7 separate regions of the Homo sapiens genome follow, and regions 1, 2, 3, 5, 6 and 7 are each linked to region 4. The links are contacts of gene promoters, found by promoter capture Hi-C in blood cells and fetal thymus (Javierre and others, 2016). All regions are on one chromosome and are shown on one strand. Each heading gives the region's core, a stretch centred on a gene start or on the middle of the fragment in contact. The rest is flanking DNA. Distances are from core to core; before and after follow the strand shown.

What was found. The method cuts DNA at HindIII sites, captures the fragments that hold promoters and counts their contacts. A CHiCAGO score of 5 or more calls a contact.
Region 1: a contact is called between a fragment that was not itself captured here and the fragment with the promoter of DUSP11 in region 4, in 3 of 17 cell types (fetal thymus, total CD8 T cells and erythroblasts). The highest score is 5.8, in fetal thymus.
Region 2: a fragment that was not itself captured here is called in contact with the fragment with the promoter of DUSP11 in region 4 in 6 of 17 cell types (neutrophils, naive CD4 T cells, total CD8 T cells and 3 more); the score reaches 6.6 in neutrophils.
Region 3: a contact is called between a fragment that was not itself captured here and the fragment with the promoter of DUSP11 in region 4, in 4 of 17 cell types (fetal thymus, total CD8 T cells, neutrophils and 1 more). The highest score is 8.9, in fetal thymus.
Region 5: a contact is called between a fragment that was not itself captured here and the fragment with the promoter of DUSP11 in region 4, in 1 of 17 cell types (activated CD4 T cells). The highest score is 5.1, in activated CD4 T cells.
Region 6: a fragment that was not itself captured here is called in contact with the fragment with the promoter of DUSP11 in region 4 in 1 of 17 cell types (erythroblasts); the score reaches 8.7 in erythroblasts.
Region 7: a fragment that was not itself captured here is called in contact with the fragment with the promoter of DUSP11 in region 4 in 1 of 17 cell types (M0 macrophages); the score reaches 5.3 in M0 macrophages.

Annotation. Positions count from the first base shown.
Region 1 is chr2:74,164,389-74,167,759 of GRCh38, reverse strand. MOB1A (MOB kinase activator 1A) reads left to right here. Exons shown (of 6, transcript NM_018221.5): 3 at 653-746; 4 at 2,409-2,542. Among named protein-coding and RNA genes, the nearest start is that of MOB1A, 13 kb to the left of the region's middle. The HindIII fragment of the contact is 959 bases long and covers 889-1,847 here.
Region 2 is chr2:74,124,392-74,128,028 of GRCh38, reverse strand. It overlaps a transcript of TET3 not described here. Among named protein-coding and RNA genes, the nearest start is that of BOLA3, 22 kb to the left of the region's middle. The HindIII fragment of the contact is 788 bases long and covers 1,758-2,545 here.
Region 3 is chr2:74,202,354-74,205,867 of GRCh38, reverse strand. It overlaps MTHFD2 (methylenetetrahydrofolate dehydrogenase (NADP+ dependent) 2, methenyltetrahydrofolate cyclohydrolase), which reads right to left. Exons shown (of 8, transcript NM_006636.4): 2 at 1-163. Among named protein-coding and RNA genes, the nearest start is that of MTHFD2, 5.5 kb to the right of the region's middle. The HindIII fragment of the contact is 1,113 bases long and covers 1,289-2,401 here.
Region 4 is chr2:73,778,494-73,781,794 of GRCh38, reverse strand. It overlaps DUSP11 (dual specificity phosphatase 11), which reads left to right and starts at 1,692. Exons shown (of 9, transcript NM_003584.3): 1 at 1,692-1,921. The coding sequence starts at 1,821. RefSeq lists enhancers at 1,721-1,790, 1,871-1,920, 2,051-2,200. The HindIII fragment of the contact is 6,659 bases long and covers 1-2,024 here.
Region 5 is chr2:74,250,420-74,253,902 of GRCh38, reverse strand. It overlaps SLC4A5 (solute carrier family 4 member 5), which reads left to right. Exons shown (of 31, transcript NM_133478.3): 15 at 775-929; 16 at 1,515-1,724; 17 at 3,386-3,483. Among named protein-coding and RNA genes, the nearest start is that of MTHFD2, 54 kb to the right of the region's middle. RefSeq lists enhancers at 3,322-3,381, 3,432-3,483. The HindIII fragment of the contact is 4,323 bases long and covers 1-3,483 here.
Region 6 is chr2:74,222,713-74,225,970 of GRCh38, reverse strand. It overlaps SLC4A5 (solute carrier family 4 member 5), which reads left to right. Exons shown (of 31, transcript NM_133478.3): 28 at 976-1,131; 29 at 3,019-3,103. Among named protein-coding and RNA genes, the nearest start is that of MTHFD2, 26 kb to the right of the region's middle. The HindIII fragment of the contact is 4,313 bases long and covers 1-3,258 here.
Region 7 is chr2:74,091,853-74,095,121 of GRCh38, reverse strand. It overlaps TET3 (tet methylcytosine dioxygenase 3), which reads right to left. Exons shown (of 12, transcript NM_001287491.2): 9 at 2,131-2,220; 10 at 1,456-1,593. Among named protein-coding and RNA genes, the nearest start is that of BOLA3, 54 kb to the left of the region's middle. The HindIII fragment of the contact is 4,624 bases long and covers 1-3,269 here.

The sequences.
Region 1 (3,371 bases), core at 119-2,618, 390 kb before region 4:
TGCTGTAGACCTCAAAAACAAATGTTTATGATTAATTAGATCTTTTAAATGCCTCTGGATACAGCTGGTGCACCTTCTCCCTCACAGTATATTCCACAACATGTTTTGTCTCTTTCCTAACACAAATGGTATTATCTGGTCCAAAGTGGTAAACTATGGATTTTTCATTCCCTTGGATGTAATCATATTGTATATCCAAAGGATATAATAGTCATCGTTAAGTTAGAATTATCTCCAGTATCTTATTTTCCTGCTGTTACATGCGAGTGGATCATGAGGTCAGGAGTTCAAGACCAGCCTGGCCAACATGGTGAAACCCTGTCTCTACTAAAAATACCAAAACAAAATTAGCTGGGCGTGGTGGCATGCACCTGTAATCCGAACTACTTGGGAGGCTGAGGCAGGAGAATTGCTTGAACCCGGGAAGCGGAGGTTGCAGTGAGCCAAGATTGCACCAGCCTGGGCAACAGAACAAGACTGTTTCAGAGAAAAAAAAAAGTGTAGTATACTACAAGTTACAGTATCATTGGATTATTGAATGTCTCAAGGGTTCAGCTAAGAACCTAAATGTATTGTCTGTTTTTCCTTCAACTGGAGGTCTCATATTTTGTGTTTACACAGACATTTTGACACAATTCTATTATCTCTGCAGCTGTGGATTTCTTTAACCAGATCAACATGTTATATGGAACTATTACAGAATTCTGCACTGAAGCAAGCTGTCCAGTCATGTCTGCAGGTCCGAGGTACATATACTGCCTATTATATAGGTGTTTGGATTAGTTTTACTTTATCACCAATTGATAGAAATTAAACAGTTAAGATTTGTTATCCGTTTGTGTGAAGGTGATTCAGTTTTATTGGTTCTTGACTACTCACCTGTAAGCTTTTAGTTATTGTGTAATTTTAAAATTTTATTTATTTTGAGACAGAGTCTCGCTCTGTTGCCAGGCTGGATTGCAGTGTGTGATCCTGGCTCACTAACAACCTCTGCCTTCCGGGTTCAAGCGGTTCTCATGCCTCAGCCTCCCGAGTGGCTGGGATTACAGGCCTGTGCCACCACTCCCAGCTAATTTGTGCATTTTTAGTAGAAATGGGGTTTTGCCATGTTCCCCAGGGCTGGTCTCAAACTCCTGGCCTCAAGTGATCTGCCCACCTCGGCCTCGCAAAGTGCTGGGATTAAAGGTGTGAGCCACTGCACCTGGCCAGCTATTAGTTATTATTAAATACTTTAGTATGTGGGTACTCCCTGTTTTCATTTTTATGTTGCATCATAGTAAGTCTGAATGTTTTATTATAGGAATAAACAGAAATTTGAGTTACATTTGTCTTGAATTGCAAACATTTTATTTTTTCAATTTTATTAATAACATTTATGTTTCCTGTTTCTAGTTTTTAAATGAATTTCTTGGAAGAGTTTTTAGTTGATCTTTTAATATTTGATTATTTTTTCTTGTGCTTATTTAGTATTTAAAGCAGCACAATTTAGAAGTAATTATCTGGCTTGAAGATGCTAGATTTAAAAACATTTTGACTTTAATAAATTTCAAGAAATACTGAAAAAGATGGAACTCTATCACTCATAATATTAAGTCCATCATATGATGGGATTAATGTTTGCTGTGTTTCCTTCCAGTTTCTTTTTTTTTTCTTATAATAAATGACTGATTTTATGTGATGATAGATGTTATCAAGATGTTTGCTTCTTAGAAAAGATTGTCCTTTCTGACTTTGCTACAAGTGTAAAGGAAAAAAGATCCCTAATGAGTTTGTAGTTCTATTTTTATTATAATATTTTAGGAAGAATGTTTTTATTTTATATTGTGTTAAGTTTTATTATTCAAGCTTTAAAAGAAATGAAAATAAACAGGAAAATTAAACTTACCTATGGCTCAAATGCTTTACACAGTGATGTTTTGTATAACTCTTGTTAATCCTTCTAGCTCGGCAAAGGTAAGGGGGGAAAGTATGCATGCCTAATGTATATCTCTAACACCTGGCCCCCAAAACAGAGTTTTATAATCTTGGGTCCATTGATGATAATAAATTGATGACCAAGAATCTCAGAAGAATGTAGTGGATCCATCGGCTCCATGCCCAGCCCTCAGCAACCTTCTGCTTTACAGGAATGCAGTTCCTTTGTGTTTCCCAGGGCTGTGTTGTTAATAAAACATCTATCCTGGCATTGCCTCCTGCCACATTATCTCCCTTTTTTCTTCCAGTTATAACTGTCACTTTCTGGATAATTACATAGGGAACTCACAGTAATCTTCAGTAGAACTTAAGGTGATTTATTAAAGTTAGATGTAACTTCTATTGACAAAATGTGAATGAACCTGTTTTAATCACAACTTGCACATTTGTTAATATTTTTGAAAAATTTATCAGTAAAACATTTTTCTCTTCAGATATGAATATCACTGGGCAGATGGTACTAATATTAAAAAGCCAATCAAATGTTCTGCACCAAAATACATTGACTATTTGATGACTTGGGTTCAAGATCAGCTTGATGATGAAACTCTTTTTCCTTCTAAGATTGGTGAGTTAACATTGTCGAAGTATTCTTTCTTTTTTTAAAATTTTATTTTATTAATATAAATAGAGTTGGGGGGGTTTGCTGTGTTGTCCAGGTTGGTCTCAAACTCCTGGCCTCAAGTGATCCTCCTGCCTTGGCCTCCCACAGTGCTGGGATTACAGGTTTGAGCCACCGTATCCAGCCTGTTTCTCTTTTTGAATGATAAATCTGCTCTTTTTAACATTGTTATACTTGTAGAGACTGCCAAATTCTCCTCCAAAAAGTTTGTACCAACATGTACTCCCCCCAGCCCTGTTTGTGTTTGCCAGTGTTTCTTCACCAACACTGGTTATTACTCATTTTTTAATATTTTCTAATTTGGTTAAATTTCTGTTTTAATATGCATTTAAAAAATGTTGATGAGATTGAGCATTTTAGCCTTTTTGTTTGTTTTATTGATCATTGTGTGTTTTCTGTTTATATCTTTCATCTATTTCTGTGTAAAGGATATTAGCGCTTTGTCGTATGTGTTGTATATCTTTTTCCCCGGGTTACCTTTTGTCTCATTTTGTTCATGGAGTATTTTTGCTGTACACAACCTTACTATTTTGTCCTATTATATCTTTTATGACTTGATTTTAATATAACAATTAGAAAGCTTTTCCCTGCTTCAAGATTATAAAAATATTTATTCATGTTTTCTTTTTTTATTTTTTTATTTTTTGAGACAGAGTCTCACTCTGTTGCCCAGGCTGGAGTGCAGCGGCACAATCTTGGCTCACTGCAATCTCCACCTCCCAGGTTCAAGCAGTTCTCATGCCTCAGTCCCTGGGTAGCTGGGACTACAGGCACA
Region 2 (3,637 bases), core at 902-3,401, 350 kb before region 4:
CTAAAACTTTATAACTTTTCCTTTTATTTAACAGAACTGTTGGAAGAAAACAAACAATATTTTGACTAGAAATGGAAATTCCTGATGCTTTGGGAATTGTTTCAGTACTTTTTCTAATACTTTAGGCATTGACTAGAAGAACTGAGACTAGAAAATACTCTTGCCTGTTTAGTCAGTATCACGTATCTTCATCTGTTTGTTGTCGCTGCTGAAGCACACACTTAAAATAATCATCATACATTTATGCACACAACCCCTTCTCCCGTGCCCTATACAAACCTATTAAGCTATTTTTCCGAATCAAATTTGCACAACTTTAAAGAAAAAAAAAAAACCTCACAGAATAATGTGTTTTTCAAGGCAGGCATTTTAAAAGCTAATCCCAACTTGCCCCGTTTTAGGCTTTTACAGTGTTTAACTTGCTTTCTTGGGTAGTTAGTCTGGAAATGAGTTCATCATCTGATATAGGATGGCTGGATTTTAATATTTTCTGTCTCCAATTCGTTTGGTTAAATGCCTAAAGCTGGTAGTCTACTAGTGCTGAAGGAAGAGGGGAAGCATTTATGGCTCATTAGAACCAATCCCCATGGTTTCCAGGTCAGCTGATTTTCTCACTACAATACTTAACAGCAAGATGAGAGGCTTTATTAACATCATGTCAATAAAGCCATTAATAATTCAGAAGAAATTTTAATTACAAACTTAAAAGAATTACATAGTTGTAAATTAGTCTGTCACTAAGTAAAGACTACTACATTTCACTTTGGGAGACCTTGTAAAATGTAAGCTAACTCATTGCTGGAACCTTGAAACAGAGGTCATCCGGATCAACAAGCATGAGTCCGTCCCTTCTGCCAGCTTCTGATCCCCTCATTTGAGTTTATGAGATGAGCCAATAATGAATGTAGAGGCAAGCAGCTCATTTTTCTACCTAAAACTAAGTCTCAGCCTGACACTTTTCTTCTGACCCAGTTACAGCTGCTTCTCTGGTGTGTGCTTCAATCCTCTTCACTGGGCACCATTAAACACTGGACTTGGTAGCTGTCTATGCATGTGACCAATTTCACTATCCATCTTCTGGCTTCAGTGCCAATTTTAAGAATGCTAATTCCTACGTGGCCAGATTTCTATAAAGATGGCAAATTATTTTATTCTGGCTAAAATTAATCATATTATTAATATTTTCTAAAGTTAGCGTTTACATTTACTGCTTTAAAAAAATTCCAGGCTGGGTGTGGTGGCTCACGCCTGTAATCCCAGCACTTTGGGAGGCCGAGGCAGGTGGATCATGAGGTCAGGAGATTGAGACCATGCTGGCTAACACGATGAAACCCCGTCTCTACTGAAAAAATACAAAAAATTAGCCGGGAGTGGTGGCGGGTGCCTGTAGTCCCAGCTACGTGGGACACTGAGGCAGGAGAATGGTGTGAACCCGGGAGGCGGAGCTTGCAGTGAGCAGAGATGCACCACTGCACTCCAGCCTGGGTGACAGAGCAAGACTCCATCTCAAAAAAAAAAAAAAAAAAAATCCAGCAAATATAAAATTTAGGCCTAAAAGATGCCAATGATTTAAAACTCTACACAGATCTAAGATCAATGCCTATGTATGAGTGTAGCTACTGCCACGAGGCATTCTACTCATAGCCAGCCTAGGAAAGTGTGAGCTGAATACAGGTCCTATGCCAAAAAACCTCTGCCTGAAACAGAACTACAGACGTGAGAAGCATTAATAGATGTGCACTGTATTTATATAAGCTTCTCTTTTCAGCATTAAAACAGCTGATCTACTGTGTCAATCTGGTAGAGATCAGTTGGTGCCATATATAAAAACCAACAGGTTAACTGACCAAATTTCTCCAGATTTCAATTGGCTCTATGGGATCAAATAGACATGATAGGTTAATTATGATGAAAACAATAATCTTAACCATGTTTAAGAAAAAATACAAAATTTTAGTGCAAGTACTTATTTACTTCTGTACTCAAAAAGGGTGAGAATCCCAGCTACTCAGAGGCTGAGGTGGTTGGATCACCTGAGCCACAAGTTCAAGACCAGCCTGGACAATATAGCAAGACCCTTGCCTCAAAGAAAATTGAGATTTTAAATTTTGTTTGTGATTTTCTCTAAGTGAATAATGGTAAAATTTAACAAACTAGCATAGTTCAATTTACTGAGCTACAAAGTATAACATTCAGCTGGGCATGGTGGCTCATGCCTGTAATCCCAACACTTTAGGGGGCTGAGGCAAGAGGATTGCTTGAGGCTAGGGGTTTGAGACCAGCCTGGGCAACACAGTGAGACCTCATCTCTATAAAGTTAAAAAAAAAAAAAATTTTAGCATACTTTAATTTATGGCAGGTACTATATATGAGAGCTGAAGTCTTCTGTACCTCCACAATGCCACACTTCTTATTCACAAAGGATGGTTAGAAGCTAGAATACAACTTTTTTGTTATTTATAAATGCTGCCAAAAGAAGAAATGTTTATGGAATTTCAAATGACACAGTTGTAAATTGGCAGTTAGCAGCTTTCCATGTAAAGCTTCATCTCAGCATGAAAAACTTGATTATAGTCAAAACTAGCCAAGGAAAACTCAAGTGTATGATGCCTAAAAGTCTACTGTGTGGCTGTCTGAAAACGTGTATTGTACCATGGTGTTATCCATCCAGCCAGGCTTTTGAAGCTATCTGTAAGAGTCATGTTGTAGGGAGAAACAGCGCCACAATTAAAAAATAATCCAAGTGAGGCCAGGTGCAGTGGCTCACGCCTGTAATCCCAGCACTTTGGGAGGCCGAGGCAGGCAGATCACCTGAGGTCAGGAGTTCGAGAACAGCCTGGCCAACATGGTGAAACCCTGTCTCTGCAGGTGGCAGGCACCTGTAATCCCAGCTACTCAGGAGGCTGAGGGAGGAGAATCACTTGAACCCAGGAGGCAGAGGATGCAGTGAGCTGAGATTGCACCATTGCACCCCAGCCTGGGTGACAGAGTGAGACTCCATCTCAAAAAAAAAAAGAAAAAAAATTCCGAGTAGTATTAAATATACATGTTAGCACCTTTTTTTTTTTTTTAGTTTTTAACCTTTTTCTTTTTTTTTTTTAGTATTTATTGATCATTCTTGGGTGTTTCTCGGAGAGGGGGATTTGGCAGGGTCATAGGACAATAGTGGAGGGAAGGTCAGCAGATAAACATGTGAACAAGGGTCTCTGGTTTTCCTAGACAGAGGACCCTGCGGCCTTCCGCAGTGTTTGTGTCCCTGGGTACTTGAGATTAGGGAGTGGTGATGACTCTTAACGAGCATGCTGCCTTCAAGCATCTATTTAACAAAGCACATCTTGCACCGCCCTTAATCCATTTAACCCTGAGTGGACACAGCACATGTTTCAGAGAGCACGGGGTTGGGGGTAAGGTTATAGATTAACAGCATCCCAAGGCAGAAGAATTTTTCTTAGTACAGAACAAAATGGAGTCTCCCATGTCTACTTTCTACACCTACACAGTAACAATCTGATCTCTTTTCCCCACATTTCCCCCTTTTCTATTCAACAAAACCGCCATCGTCATCGTGGCCAGTTCTCAATGAGCTGTTGGGTACACCTCCCAGACGGGGTGGCGGCTGGGCAGAGGCGCCCCCCAC
Region 3 (3,514 bases), core at 596-3,095, 420 kb before region 4:
TTTGTTGAGGACATAGGAGTGACTTGCAGGATTCTCGCCAACCAGGATCACACTCAGGTGTGGCCGTTTGTTGCCTGAGGCCACCCACTCTTCTACCTCCTGCCGCACTTCCTGCTTGATCTGCTGGGCCAGTTTCCTTCCAGAAATGACAACAGCTTCATTTCTGCAGAAGGCAACAGAGTCACAAAACCAAATAACTTGAATTTTTATAAAAACTAAAACTCTGCCAGGTGTAGTGGCTTATGCCTGTAATCCCAGCACTTCGGGAGGCCGGGGCAGGAGGATGGCTTGAGCCCAGGAGTTTGAGACTGGCCTGGGCAACATGGCAAAACCCTGTCTCTGCTAAATAAATAAATAAATGAATGAATATATCCAGCTACATATGGAGGGGGATAAAGTTGATAGAAATCATTATTATCATTAATTTGAAGCTCAGGGAGTTTAAGTGACTGACAGCGCTTGGTCAAGCTGAGTCTCACATCAGTCTGGGCTCTTAACTGCTACACCACCCTGCGCCCTGATCATTACTAAGTGTTTTACAGTTTTAATTTGCAATTGTTTGACCCCTCACCATGAGGTTAAATAGTTTTTCTTATCTGCTTATATGCCATTTGTAGTTCGTGTTTTGTCCCTGTTGTTAGCAGCCAGGCATGTATTTCAAATCATTTCCCAGTCAACTGACTTCATTTTTATGGTGGTTTAAATCGATAAATTATATTCTGTAGTTGAATAAACAAACAATATAGGCCGGGCACGATGGCTCACGTTTGTAATCCCAGCACTTTGGGAGGCCGAGGAGGGCAGATCACAAGGTAAGGAGTTCGAGACCAGCCTGGCCAACACATGAAACCCTGTCTCTACTAAAAATACAAAAATTAGCTGGGCGTAGTGGTGGGCTCCTGTAATCCCAGCTACTCAGGTGGCTGAGGCAGGAGAATCACTTGAAACCAGGAGGCAGAGGTTGCGGTGAGCTGAGATTGTGCCACTGCACTCCAGCCTCGGTGACAGAGCTAGACTCCGTCTCAAAAATAAACAAACAAACAAACAACATACTGGACAGGTCAAACATCAAAATGACCACCACTCCCCACAGTCCCTTCTGGGGAAGACTTTCCTGGTAAGAATAGGGGCAGGGCAGGGGACTGGAGGAAGCTCCTTCTCACAGTTGGCAATGTGCTCTTCCCAGGGACCCCACCATATCATCCAAAGCTGACAGACCAGGAGTGAGTATGTGACGCCAAGGGCAACAATCTCTAGGCTGGCCAGTGGTCCAGTTGGCGCAAAAGCTTAGCTCAACAGAGCAGTGAGAGTTAGTTGAACCAGTAAGAGCTCGTCCCTGAGGCAGTTCAAACTAGAACCACAGAACAAAGACAGAAAGAATAGGCAGAATAATAGTCACACCAATGGGAGACAACAGGGCAAGAAATCAGAAAACTGTTGCTGAGGTGGGGAGCAAGAAGAAAAATCAGGATCTAGAAGAACCTCCAGTTCCCAAAACCATGTTCAGCTGCCCGAAAGGCTGTCTCTTCCCAAAGAGAACTGCTTATGCAACTCTTCCTGGGTTCCATGAAACCCAAATGTGGAAGAGTCCCAGTTTTCCTATTTTCACACATGTCCTTACAGTAAAGTGCCCATTACTTAAAGATGAGCATCTGGCCCAGCGTGGTAGCTCAAGCCTGTAATCCCAGCACTTTAGGAGGCCGAGGAGGGTGGATTGCTTGAGGTCAGGAGTTCCAGACCAGCCTGGTCAACATGGCAAAACCCCGTCTCTGCTAAAAATACAAAAATTAGCCAGGCATGGTGGTGCGCGCCTATAATCCCAGCTACTCAGGAGGCTGAGGCAGGAGAATTGCTTGAACCCAGGAGGCAGAGGTTACAGTGAGCTGATATCACCCCACTGCACTCTAGCCTGGGCGACAGAGAAAGACTGCATCTCAAAAAACTAAACTAAACTAAACTAACTAAACTAAACTAAACTAAACTAAACTAAACTAAACTAAACTAAACTAAACTAAACTAAACTAGATGAGCATCTCTTCCTTAAGTAAAATGATCCCATTAAAAAAAGCCTTTCCCTTTAGATCTCTGTCCTTGGTGTCATGAAGACTGCTCTAACCTCAAGACCAATGAAGTAATCTCCTCTTATATTCTAAAACCTAACATCAAGGTACTGAATATCCTGTAGGGTCAGATAAAATTAATTCTCAAGATAACTGCTAATTTATTTATTTATTTTTTTTGAGACAGAGTCTTGCTCTGTTGCCCAGGCTGGAGCAATCTCAGCTCACTGCAGCCTCCCAAGTTCATGCAATTCTCCAGCTTTTGCCTCCATAGCTGAGAATACAGGCACCCACCACTGCACCCGGCCAGTAACTGCTAATTTAAATGGGATTTTAAAGCTTTCACAATCTTTAGGCCTTCAATAAGTGTTTTTTATTGCATTATGATTAAATACCAACTTTAAACCAAATCTCAACATCTTAGATATAATGCAATAATCTTATATATAAACTTTATCTTAATCTGTATTGCATCTTGTGAAGTATTAAATTATTATAATCTGGCCAGGCACGGTGGCTCATGCCTGTAATCCTAGCATTTTGGGAGGCCAAGGTGGGCAGATCACTTGAGGTCAGGGGTTTGAGACCAGCCTGGCCAACATGGCAAAACCCCGCCTCTACTAAAAATACAAAAATTTGCCAGGCATGGTGGCAGGACCCTGTAATTGTAATCTCAGCTACTCGGGAGCTGAGGTAGGAGAATATCTCGAACCCAGGAGGCATAGGTTGCAGTGAGCCAAGATCACGCCACTGCACTCCAGACTGTGTAACAGGGCAAGACTCCATCTCAAAAAAAGAAAAAAGTTACAATCTTACAGCAAATCAAATACTTTTACCCTGATTTTATATAATACTAGCATGGCACAACATATAATAGCATTTAATTATACCCATGGTATATGAAGAAATTGAAAACATATTAATATTCACAATTCCATTTCAGAATTAGAGTCGAAGAGGACTTCATTAAAAGGGTTTTGCAGGCCGGGCATGGTGGCTCACATCTGTAATCCCAACACTTCGGGAAGCCAAGGTAGGCAGATCATGAGGTCAGGAGATTGAGACCATCCTGGCTCATATGGTGAAACCCCGTCTCTACTAAAAATACAAAAAATTAGCCGGGCATGGTGGCACGCACCTGTAGACCCAGCTACTTGGGAGGCTGAGGCAGGAGAATCGATTGAACCCGGGAGGCAGAGGTTGCAGTGAGCAGAGACTGCCGTGAGCGGAGATCGTGCCACTGCACTCCAGCCTGGGCAACAGAGTCAGACTCCATCTCAAAAAAAAAAAATTAAAATAGGGGGGTTTTGCTGATACAAATACACCTGGCAACATTCCTCATTCCTGATTTGTATTAGTACCTGGAATGCCCACCGCAGGCCAAAAATACATTCCTAATCCTGGAACACTACAGAGTGAAAGACTACTTTAAAACGGCTTAGAACAGTCATTTA
Region 4 (3,301 bases), core at 443-2,942:
GAACCCAGGAGGCAGAGGTTGCAGTGAGCTGAGATCGCGCCACTGCACTCTAGCCTGGGTGACAGAGAGAGACTCCATCTCAACAACAACAACAACAAATAATTAAATGTTCCTAATTGTAGGTTTGTTATGTTCTGCTATCCTGTCTTTTTCTTTTTCCAATGAACAATTTATGAATATTGACACATTTTTAATGATGTGGAAATTTTCAGAATTGTAAATGTTTATGTATTTAAAACTGGTTGGAAAAGTACTGTCTCAAAAATGTTAATAAAGCTAGCAGTCTAGCTTTATTAATATTCATTTATTCAATAGCTCTGACCTTTCTTATCCTTGGTTTACCCAGCTCTGAAATGGTTGCAAAGATTACTAAAAATATATGTAAGTTACTTTCATAAATTAGAAACTAAGAAGTAAAAATTACTTTCAAAAATCTGCCATTGGCCAGGTGCGGTGGCTCAAGCCTGTAATCCCAGCACTTTCGGAGGTCGAGGAGTGCTGATCATGAGGTCAAGACATCGAGACCATCCTGGCCAACATGGAGAAACCCTGTCTCTACTAAAATACAAAAAATTGGCTGGGAGTCGTGGCATGCACCTGTAGTCCCAGCTACTCAGGAGGTTGAGGCAGGGAGAATTGCTTGAACCCGGGAGGCGGAGGTTGCAGTGAGCTGAGATGGCACCACTGCACTCCAGCCTGGTGGCAGAGTGAGACTGGGTCTCAAAAAAAAAAAAAAAAAGTCTGCAATCATAATTACTTACAGTTTAATCTGGAATTTAGTACTCTATTCTATTTTCAAAGCTGCTATAGGGTATGCTGTCCTTTGTAGTTCCACTTTTAGCAGAATTGAACGTTTTTCTAACGGGTACAGATCTTTATGCTTGAGACTGTGTGGAAACCTTGGACTTGAGCTCCACTCTCAGTTATTTTTTGTATTTGCTAAAACTTAAATACATTCTGTCCACCTCTAGCATGATACCTGGTATGTGATAGGAACCCAATAAAAGTTTGGCTTTGATGGGAGTGTATGTTTCTACATTATTTTTGGAGGGTAATTAGGTAGTATCTTTCCAAATTTTAAGTTTGTATGTGTTTCATTCCAGACATTCTACTTCTAGGAATTTAGATATAGTTGTATATATGTATAAGGATGTTCACATTGCAGCATTGTCTGTAACAAGATTTGAAAAGAACCTGAAAACAACTAAAGGTCCATTAATATTGAACTGGCTAAATACGTTATGGTACTTTTAATTATGTTACTCATAAGCAAGTAAATTGCCTATAGCCATTAAAAATAGAATCTATGTATGCATAAATTGACTGGGATAATCAGTGTTTAAGGTATACTGTAGAATATGTACAGTTACTCCTTTTGTATAAAAATAGAGGATATACATATATGTGAAAGTAAATATGTATACAAAATATGCAAAATGTGAATGTAAGCGCTGGTAAATATCTAGAAGAACACACAAGGAACCGGGGCGTGGGGCGGATCGGGCAGAGGGACTTCCCTGTGCCTCACTGTTTGAATTCTGAAGGGTGCATACACGCCCTTATTGACCTGTGCTACTGGCCTCTGGCTAAAGAGGGCGCTGTAGCCACCAAAGTCCTGTTTACAGATCAGGAGTCTCAGTAAGCCAGCGTGGCTACGCCATCACGACCGGCGGTGGCACATGCGCAATAGCGAGACGCTGGAGCGCGGCGTAGGTGGCTGCCGAGTCTTTTCCTGTTTAGGGTCTTATCCTGGCATTGAGGGCGCCGGACTGGCGCTTTTGGCCGACTTGGCATTGGGTGGGCGGCTTCTTGGGACCCACATGAGCCAGTGGCATCATCCCCGCAGTGGCTGGGGCCGGAGACGCGACTTTTCAGGACGCTCCTCAGCCAAGAAGAAGGGCGGAAACCACATCCCCGAAAGGTAGTATGTCTTGGTCCCTTGGCGTGGCCTTTCCAGCTCGTGGCTTCTGGGTCTGGGCTTCATCGTTTGTGGTCTCTGCCTCTCGCCGTTGCCATCGCAAGCTTGACTTGTCCGCCGCTTGCTTTGAGGCTTTGACCCTCTGCGCCACCCGCTGTAGCTGAAAGGGGCGATGTCTGTGATGTCCTGTGATTTCTCCATATTCTTGTAAAAGGGAGGTTCTGGCCATTGCTCTTAGGTAAAATACGGAAGGATTGCTTTAAGGTGGGACTGTTACTGTTGGGGACACTCCTTAATTCCCAAAATGGAACCTCCTCAATTCCTTGTTACGTTGGCACGGAAAGTGTAATGGTTTGAGTTAGGAACCCAGCAGTAGTAGCGCCCTGAGATCTCACATGGAAAGTTGGTTTGTATTGTTTCCAGAAATCACAAAGAGCATACTTTGTTACTTCCTAACAGGCCTCATTTGAAAGATAACTCCTTTATACGTACAAATGATTAATTTTGAGACTTTGCACGTAGGTGCATTGAACTGTTTTTACTCCTTGAGACCATCCTCCACCATCTCATACCTCAATAAATCCTCTTCATTTTATCTACTATCTTTTGACTGTCACTTTCTGTCAGTACCCTAATACAGGTCTTGCCTGACTTATTGCAGTGGGGTTCTAATTAGTGAATCTCCTGTTTGTTTTCTTCCAATCCGTTTTTTTGTTTTTGTTTTTGGGATGGATTTTTGCTCTTCTCCGCCAGGCTGGAGTGCAATGGTCCAATCTCGGCTCACTGCAACCTCCGCCTCCCGGATTCAAGCGATTCTCCTCCCTCAGCCGCCCAAGTTGCTGGGATTACAGGCGCCCGCCACCACACCCGGCTAATTTTTTTTGTATTTTTAGTAGAGATGGGGTTTCACCATGTGGGTCAGGCTGGTCTCGAACTCCTGACCTCAGGTGATCCACCTGCCTCAGCCTCCCAAATTGCCGGGATTAACAGACGTGAGCCACCGCGCCCGGCCAGTTCCTAGCATTATTAAGTGAAGTTCACAGTCCCTCTTCTAGCAGGTTTTCTCTTAAAATATGAACTTGAAGTTTCCTACTAATTGAACTTTATGGCATCAGTCGTATGAAAACTAAAAGCGTGAAGTGAAATAATTGAATTTAAATTATTTCAGTGAATATGTTTGTATTAATGGCACTTTAGTATCTGGTACTGGGCCAAGTTTAACAGGGATACAGAAGTTCTGGGTATCTCCGGTTTTATATAGGCCTTATTTGAGTTGTACTGTTGTGTTGGCTTGTGTTCGTTTTTATGATGGGGAAACAGGAGAGAAGGACGGTATAGGTCGTTACTTGGTGGGGTTTAATAAGTGGAGTGGCGAAATGCAAA
Region 5 (3,483 bases), core at 217-2,716, 470 kb before region 4:
AACTCTCAATCATTGAAAATATCAAATCCTAGAAAACTAGCATTCCTACGAGTGATGCTAACATCATTCTCGAACAGTTTTTGGCCTAAGATTCATTTGATGAATCCAGTGTTTCCAAAATAGATGATTCTGATCATTCCAATGATTCCAATGTTAGTTCTTTTTAGAAATAATTCTAAGAATAATTTTTATATTGCATTTTCACATTGAAAATCAGTCAGATTTGCTTCGGCCTCAAAGAGTGTGTTTATGTAAAATTAAATGAGTGCTGGCAGTGAGCTGCACTTTTTTTTTTTGCCTAAATGGGAAAGGGTTAAATGTGAGCATAGTCCCATCGAATCTGTAAGTCAGAAAGCACACTCTGGAGACAGTGTGAAGAACACGGCCTGAGCCTCCAAGGGCGAAGGGCTGGAAGTAAAAAATGGTTATGAAATATCTGAGCTCCTTGGACTGGGCTCTACAAAGGTTTTCTAATATGTATGATGTGTGGAAAACTGAAAACAGAAAGGTTAAGTAACTTAACCGAAGTCCTACAAGCAAGAATATGGAGACCTGGCCTTCAGATCCAAGAGAGGCTGTCTTCCCCCAGTGCCTGCTGTGTCCCATTGTGCCATATTTTACCAATGTACTATAGTCTCATTCCAAAAACTGAGAGTGAGTTGGCAGTGGGAGATGTGGTTCAAAGGGATTCCTTTAAAAACTAGATGTGATATGCTCCCAGGCATTTCAGAAACAGACCCGATCTTTCTTTTCTCCCTCCTCTCTCCTCGCCAGCTCTTCAGTGACGTGGCCTACAAAGCCCGCAATCGGGAAGATCTGATCGCAGGAATTGATGAATTTCTGGATGAGGTCATCGTCCTTCCTCCTGGAGAATGGGACCCAAATATCCGGATTGAGCCCCCCAAGAAGGTGCCCTCTGCTGACAAGAGGTGTGTATGAGAATGGGCAGTAGGGAGAGAAAAAGGAGGCTTCAACTCTGTCGGTATCATTTTATTTCTCTTTAAAATACATCTGAGGCTCAGCATAGTGGCTCATGCCTGTAATCTCAACACTTTGGGATGCTGAGGCAGGTGGATCACTTGAGCCCAGGAGTTTGAAACCAGCCTGGGCAACATAGTGAGATCTTGTCTCTACAAAACAAAAATCAAATTAACTGGGCATGGTGGCATGCACCTATAGTCCCTGCTACTCTGGAGGCTGAGGCAGGAGGATTGATTGAGCCCAGGAGGTCAAGGCTGCAGTGAGCTGTGATCATGCCACTGTACTCCAGCCTGGGCAACAGAGTTTGACCCTGTCTCAAAATAATGTTTAAAATAAGTTTAAAAATAATAAGATATATCAGAAACAAATATGGCTAAATGTGAACATTTGTAAAATCTAGGTGACCTGCGTGTGGATATTGTTAGACAATTTTCTGCATTTTTGTCTGTCTTTTAAGATATTTCATAATTTTGGTTGGAGAGGTGAGGGGTGCTCTGGGGGACCCACTCTCCTTCATCCCCCTTCTCTTCCAGGAAATCTGTGTTCTCCCTAGCAGAGCTGGGCCAGATGAATGGCTCTGTGGGAGGAGGCGGCGGAGCTCCTGGAGGAGGCAATGGAGGTGGTGGTGGTGGTGGCAGTGGCGGCGGGGCTGGCAGTGGCGGGGCCGGCGGAACAAGCAGCGGGGATGATGGAGAGATGCCAGCCATGCATGAAATCGGGGAGGAACTTATCTGGACAGGAAGGTGCCCACCCCAGGCCTCCCAGTGACCCTGCTGTCCTTTAGACTTCTCCCTTCTCAGCTGCCCTCTAGGGACTTTTCCCAACCATGGTCTGTAGTGCCCACTCGAGGTCACCCCTGCCTTCTTTCCCTCCCAGAGCCCTTGAACCCCATCATGGATCCCCAAAAGGTTGCCTCAGGAGAGGGGAATTTGAGACCCATACAAGAGGAGAGGAACCCAAACTTTTCTCTTAGATATCCTTTGGTGCCTGTTTCCTGGGTCTGCTGTAACAAAGTACCACAAACTAGGTGGCTTAAAACCACAGAAGGTTACTCTCCTGCAGTTCTGGAGGCCAGGAGTTCCACAGCAGGTGTTGGCAGGACCACCGTGCTCCCTGAGGCTCCAGGTGGAATCCTTCCTGGCCTCCTCCTGGCTTCTGGTGGTGGCCAGCAGTCCTTGGTGTTCCTGGCTGGCAGCCGCATCACCCCCGGCTCTGCCTCTCCACCACATGGCCTCCTGTGTGTCTGTCTTCACAGAGCACTTTCCTCTTTGTGTATGGACCCCAGTCATGTTGGAATAGGGCCCACCATAATGACTTAATCTAAACTGGATTACATTTGCATAGGTGTTACATAGATGTTAGGACCTTAATATATCTTTTGGGGGGACACAACTCAATAACAGTACCTTTTTTAAAACTTAATTTACCTATTCAAAAACTTTTTTTTTTTTTAAAGAAAATAAGAGAAAGTTCTCCTGGCCTGGGTTTCTTTTCCAGCTCTTGGAGTCATTCAGGTTGATCTAGATTTAGGAAAGGATGTGGCCTTGAAAATCTACATATAAATCATGACTTTGAGAATGAAGTCATGTTTTATATGCCCTTGGCTTTATACCAGTGGTTCTCACTGTAAGCAGCTTTGGCCCTCCTTAGTCCCCCTACCCCCGAGCCCAGGGAATTTGGCAATGTCCAGAGACATTTTTGCTTGTCACAACCGGAGAGGGGAGATGCTACTCGCATCTAGTAGGTAGCTGCTAAACATCCTGCAGTGCATGGGACAGCCCCTGCAGCAAAGGAGTATCCAGTCCAAAATATCAGCAGAACTGAGGTTGAGAAACTCTGCTCCATGCTAAGGACTGCATTAGGGGCTATGGGAATAGCAATCCCAGTAAACAGTGTCTCCAAACCTAAAATCTTCCACTCAGCTGTTCCAGATAGCAAAATCAAAAAACAAACAAATACCAACCAGTTATAAGGTTTAGGATCTGTTCTTAATGAATCTGTTATAATCTGGGATGCTTCTGTCACCGAAAGTTAGACACTCCTGTGTTCACCAAGAGCAGGCACCCTGCAGATGGTCAGGGATGTGAGGAGGACCACCATCTGTGGACCCCAGGACTTCCATTCTCCATGGAATGTTAGGTCTACCCCAGGACATATTCCCATCAGACTTTCCCTCTCCAAAACCCTCTATGTCCACCCTTCCCAATGTGGGTGGTGCCAACCACAAACTCAGTCCTACAGGAATTCATCCCTGGCCCTAAATGTTCTGGTGGAAAGATCTTTGCCCCATCCACCCTGGTCAAGTTCCTTTCCTCGCCCCAGACTCTGCAAGTTCTTGTAAATAGCCCTGCCCCTGCACTGGTGTTAGTGGTGAGAAAGCAGCCCCTGGGCCTGTCTTGAGCAGGTTCTTCGGTGGCCTGTGTCTGGATATCAAGAGGAAGTTGCCCTGGTTCCCAAGTGACTTCTATGATGGCTTCCACATTCAGTCCATCTCTGCCATCC
Region 6 (3,258 bases), core at 404-2,903, 440 kb before region 4:
CTGAGTACTGTTCCACTGAGTCCACACCAGCCCCCAAAGCACTAATAACCCCGCTTTACAGATGAGAAAATGAGGCTCAGAGAGCATGAGCAGAGTGACCCTGGACACACAGCCAGATAGGGCAGGGCAAGACCCACACCCTCCACCTATTGATTTTTTTGTTTAATTTGCATACAGTAAAATTCAATGTGTGGGTCTATGAGTTTTGGCAAATGTACAGAGTGGTTAGAGACATAAATTCTCAGGCATTACCTGACCTGCTAAATCAGAAACTGGGGGAATCCAGTGATTTGTGTATTAATTAACAAGCCCTCCAGGTCCTGGTGCATGCTCAAGTTTGAGAGCCACTAATTTATGTATTTATTTTATTTGTTTGAGATGGAGTCTTGCTCTGTCGCCCAGGATGGAATGCAGTGGCACAATCTTGGCTCACTGCAACCTCCGCCTCCCGGTTTCTAGCGATTCTTCTGCCTCAGTCTCCTGAGCAGCTGGGACTACAGGCACCCACCACCATGCCTGGCTAACTTTTGTACTTTTAGTAGGGACAGGGTTTCACCATGTTGGCCAGGCTGGTCTTAAACTCCTGACCTCAGGCGATCTGCCCACCTCGGCCTCCCAAAGTGCTGGGATTACAGGTGTGAGCCACCACGCCTGGCTGAGAACCACTAATTTAAAGAATAACTGTAGTTCTCCAGCCCATGGCCTTTCTGAGGCTCCCCACTTCGGCTGTCACAGGCTCCGTCCCTCTTGGTCACTGGTAGGCATGGTCACTCACCTGAGGGGCCAGACAAGAGGAACTACGGTGGAGGGAAAGTGAATAATGGCTTATGGGAGCTTCGAGACGGCTCCAAAGACACCACAAAAAGTCCCTGAACTCAGCCGACTGAGGGAGAAAAAAATCTATGCCTGAGTTTGGGCATTGAGACCACAGTTTTCTCCAAATTCTCACAAAACTTTAGTCTCTCTCCACCACAGATCCTGGGCCTCATCATCGTTCGAAGGCTTCTGGATTTCATCTTTTCCCAGCACGACCTGGCCTGGATTGACAACATCCTCCCAGAGAAGGAAAAAAAGGAGACAGACAAGAAGAGGAAGAGAAAAAAAGGGGCCCACGAGGACTGTGATGAGGAGGTGGGGAAGATGTGAGGCCGGGGCACAGAGGAGAAATTGAGAGACCTTCTCTCCACTTTTGCCAGGGACAGGGAGAGGGCGGCTTCTTGGGTGGCCTGCAGCAGTGCCTCGGCCCAGTCCAGGATGGGCTGGGGCATCTGCTTGTCTTGGTCTGGGGTGTTGAGGGCTCTTCTGTTTATGTGAATATCCTCAGGGTGGGCCAGAGTGAATGAGACTCCCTGTCCAGGGAAAAGGTGACTGGCCATGCCCACTCTTTCCATCACTGTGGGCTTTACGGCCGTGATCACAGCAAGCGGGTTCCTGTGGGAAGGGCCAGGAGGCAGCTCCAGCATGGAAGGAGGTTATGAAGACTGACCTCCAAAGAGTGGAGCAGACTTGGGGAGAGGTGTCTAATGGGGCCTTATAAGTAGACTGGACTCCAGACAGGCAGGAGGGGCTGGGAACAAGTTTTGCTTGCGCCTTTGCCTAGGGTATTGAGGACAAAGATGGGGAAAGAGGCAGGTATCCTCGCCAAAAGGAGACTGGCTACATTTCCCAGATGTCTGGGACAACATGGTTGCCCCATCTGCCCCTCTTCTCCCATGGTCCCTTCCCATTTCATCCCCAAAACACTCAGGGAGTCAACAGACAAGGGGCCAGTCCAGAAATTATAGTGAATCACAAAACATGAGGCAGAAAGATTCTTAATTCATGTGTTCATTACTTATGATGAAACTGTCCCCACAAAAGGAAGTGACTTACCCAAAATGGACATGTAGCTACATTTCTAAGAAGGAATTAAGAAAATAATTCCTGACTTTGCTGGTTTCTGATATGCTAAGCTGCCTGTGCCATCTCCTAATGCTGTGCTTGGTTCCCAATCTCCCAATTTGACCCAAACTCACGTCCCTGCATCCACCCTGTCCTGTTCTCGTGATTTTGCCTTGTGCAGATGAAACCTGTTCAAGGCAAATCCCTTCTGACTGGCTGGTGGTGATTAAACCATCTTCTGATCAGTCAGAACTCCCCTGGTCCTTAATTACTGTGCTCTTCCAGGAAGAGTCCCATAATGCATGTGTTTGTAGATGATTTGTAAAGGTGGGTTCTGAAAACAAAGAAACAGAGACTAAGTGCCTTTTAAAGACAAATACTTCTTTTGTTGATACTTTCAATAAATATCTGAGTGGCTACCACATGCCAAGAACTATTACAGGGTTGGGAAAAAGAATCTCTGAATTATGATATATCAATGGAAAAACAGGATTCAATTTATACAAATTCATTTTACTTGTCTTATAGCAACACAGTTGTTGTGTGAGGTTCATTCCCAAGTGACTGGTTGCTGTGACAGATAAAACTGTTTTGATGAGTAACATTCCTGGAAGAGTTCCGGTCTGTCTGATGGTGTGTATAGGACAGCAGGCTAACTGTGCCCATTCCCCTTCAGTGGACCCCAGGGTATTTGCAGCATCCCCTAACTGTTTAGAGGTGAACAGAATGGTGGTTTGCAATGTTCATGCATGCATTTTCCATCTTGGCAAGAAAGCCAAGTTGTTGGCCACGCGCGGTGGCTCACATCTGTAATCCCAGCACTTTGGGAGGCCGAGGCAGGGGGGATCACAAGGTCAGGAGTTCAAGACCAGCCTGGCCAGCATGGTGAAACCCCATCTCTACTAAAAATACAAAAAATTAGCCAGGTATGGGGGTGCACGCCTGTAATCCCAGCTACTTGGGAGGCTGAGGCAGGAGAATCACTTGAACCCAGGAGGCAGAGGTTACAGTGAGCCGAGATCGCACCACTGCACTCCAGCCTGGGCAGTAGAGCGAGACTCTGTCTCAAAAAAAAAAAAAAAGAAAGCCAAATTGTTGTGTTGGTGTTTATCCTCTTTTCCCACTGTTTTTCTCCAGCCCCAGTTCCCTCCTCCCTCGGTTATAAAGATTCCCATGGAAAGTGTCCAATCAGATCCCCAAAACGGTATCCACTGCATTGCCAGTAAGTAAAACACATGATGTCTCTCCCTTCTTACTACTAGTCCTCCATGTCTTTCCCCTAGGAACTTTCATCTGTAACTCAGGGGGATCTAATCATTTTGGATGCTAGAGCAGCAGTCCCCAACTTTTTTGTCATAAGGGACAAGTTTTGTGCAA
Region 7 (3,269 bases), core at 514-3,013, 310 kb before region 4:
CTTGTCTCGTCCTCAGCCCCTGGAAGCCCTGTCTGCCCAGAACCTGGCTAAAAGGCAGAGCAGACAGCCAGCATCATCCCTTCAAGGAAGCCCCTAACCAAGTCCAAACTCCCTCTCTTCTCCATCTGCACTCACTCCCCTGCTGATGGCGTCGGCCTCACAGCTCTAACTATAAACCACGTGCTCTCCAGACCCTCCTTGCCCCCTGCCTACTCCACATCTCCACCTGCACGTCTAGCAGGCATCTTGAAACAGGACTCTTGATTTCTTACTCCTAAATTCAGCCTTCCCCTGTTACTTACATCTCGGTCCATGTTACCAACACTCACCCAGATGCTGAAGCAAAAAGCCTTGGAGTGCTCCTCAAGTCCTGCTCACATAACAATCCAGCCCATCTGCAAATCCTCTTGGCAGTCCCTTCCACATCATCCAAAATCTGTCCCATCAGCACCTCCCCCCACTCCTGCCCAAGCCGTGTCCCCTCTGGCCTGGATGGCTGCCCCAGCCTCCTCCTTCGCCTCCTTCCTCTTATTCCCTCCCGTTCACCTCACTCTGCCCCCACCATCACACACCTCATTCTCTAACTGCAGCAGCAGGAGTGCGTCTAACTTTACAATGCAAACTTACTGCTGCCCAGCTGAGAAGCCCTCAACAGCTTCCCATCACACTTAGAGCAAACCCCGCAACCCTCCCCTGGCCCTCAAGGCTCCCTGTGAGCTGGTCCCTGCAGGCCTCTCCAATCCCACTCTCCCTGCCCCTTGCAGTAAGTTACTCCCTTCCTGTTGTTCCCTGAACACACACCCAGCCTGCTCCCCGCTCGGAGCCTGCACACACGCTGGTCCCTCTGCCTGGAGCACTCTACCCCCAGATAGTGGCTCTCTCACTCTCTTGCGCCATTCACATCTCAACTTAAACGTCCCCTCCTCAGAGCAGCCTCTCATCTAAAACAGCATCTCCTGTTGCTTTATCCCTCACCCTACTTCATTTTTCCCTCTTGGCCTTCATTGCTACAGGACATTCCCACACATACTTGGGCAGGAACTTTGTCCGTTTCATCCCGCAGCATGCAGAGCAGTGCCTGGGCACAGCTGGTACTCAATACACATTTGTCCAAAGAATGAATCAAGGGTTTGTTTGCATTTAAATCCAAGTGTCCACAGAGACCGGGGCCCACGCTTTAGATAACTGGGCACTCCAGGTGCTTGAGGGGCTACATCCTGCAGCATCCCCCTAAGACACAGACACAAAGCCAGCCTTGTCTGTTCAAGGGTTTTCTGGTGAGGTTTTCTCTGGGAGGTGGGCGAAGGCAGGCCGTCTTGCAGGGAACCTTCCAGAGTTCTGAGGATCCTGTCTCCAGGTCCCTCCCTACCCTCAGCCTGCCTTTCTGAAAAGACCACGGTGGACTCCCTCCCACAGTTGCCCCACAGGTGGGGCTATGACAGGGCACAGGCTTACCACGGTGCACCCATTGTAGAGGTTATGCTGGTCCTTGTGGGCGTGGGCACAGAAGTCCATGCAGGCCGTGACCCCCGCGAAGGGCCGTCCTTCCTTCAGCCCCAGACGGCAGTCAATCGCTATTTCCTCGTTGGTCACCTGTGTAGACAGCCAAGGAGAGGTGCTCACATGACCTGAGGTGAGTGGCCCCGATTCTGCACCTGGGGAGGCCAGGTCTTGGAAGGAGGGATGTTAAGGATGATAGTCACCTTGCCCTTCGACTGCAGGAGGGAGGTTTTCTGGCTGAGAGGCCCCAGCTACAAAAAAGTTACTTTCAGTCTCCTGTAGGAATTACTTCCTTCTGGGTTATCCCAAGTCCCCTTGCCTTGTCTAGGAGATACAAGGGTGACAGGTGAGAGAAACTCGGGCCTCACCAGTGGATACCAGACCAGAGGAGGTGGATGGGTTACCAGGGGAAGGGAGAAGACCAGGATAGAAGAGGGACGGTGTGGGATGCAGGTAGCCTGGTGTAAAAAAGGGGTTTTTATCAAAGAACCACATCATATCGCTTTACTTCTGGACTAGGCTCTTCCCATAAGAGAGTAAAAGAGCCCACTCTCCCACTTCCCACCTTCAGAGCCTGAGCAGAGATGTGGACGGTGACATGTGGGCAGCAAAAGGCCCAGGGCCCGTTACCTGGTTCTGATAGGCCTGAGGGGCCAGTCGCTTGTACAGGGGAGCGACTTCGGTGGCCAGGTCCTGGAAACTCTTCCGGAGCACTTCTTCCTGCAGAGAGAGGGGCAGTCACACATCCAGAGCAGCCCCGCCTGGCAGACCCTGCACCCTGGAAGTGGACTGGCATTCCTGAAGCATCGTGGGGGAGGCTGGGAGGGAGGTGTTATCAGGTGTCTTTCTGGCCTTTCCTTCAGGAGGGCTGTGGTGCTGTGTCCACTTCACAGCTGGGGACACTGAGGCTCCCAGGAAAAGCTGTGGAAGCCACGGCCTGAAGGTCTAGTCATCCTGACTGCTAAACTACTGCTCCTTCAGGCTCCCGCCCAGTTCAGCCCAGAACATATCAAACGTTTCTTGCTTTCGAGTGCTGAACACCGTAGGTCAGAGGTGCGGCACAGTGGGACTGAAAAAGCCAAGAGCAACAACTGTGGATCTTTCCTCCCAGGCTACAGACAGGAAGAGAAAGGCAGGCAGGATCCATGCTAGAAATTCCACAGCCAGCCCAGCCCAGCCCAGCCCAGCCCAGAGCCTGTCATAAGCCAGGAATACAGACAGACTTCAAAGCTCCAGCTGCTAGACTCGTACTACGTAATGTTATTCACAAACCACATGAAGCTACAGAAATACAGATGAATTCTAATTTTTTTTTTTCTTTGAGACAGAGGCTCACTCTGTCACCCAGGCTGGGGTGCAGTGGCATTATCTTGGCTCACTGCAACCTCCATCTCCTGGGTTCAAGCAATTCTCCTGCCTCAGCCTCCTGAGTAGCTGGGATTAGAGGTGCCCACAGCCGGCTAATTTCTTTTATATTTTTAGTAGAGATGGGGTTTTGCCGTGTTGGCCAGGCTGGTCTCAAACTCCTGACCTCAGGTGATCCAACCACCTTGGCCTCCCAAAGTGCTAGGATTACAGGCGTGAGCCACAATGCCCGGCCTGAATTCTAATAAAAATTAAAGCAATTCAGTCCCTTGGTTGCACTAGTCCCATTTTAAATACTCAGCAGCTACACGTGGCTCCTGTATGGACAGCAGAGAATGTTTCCACACATCACAGAAAGTACTGTGGGACAGCACTGCTCTATGTGAAGCAGCAGCCCCTGGTGA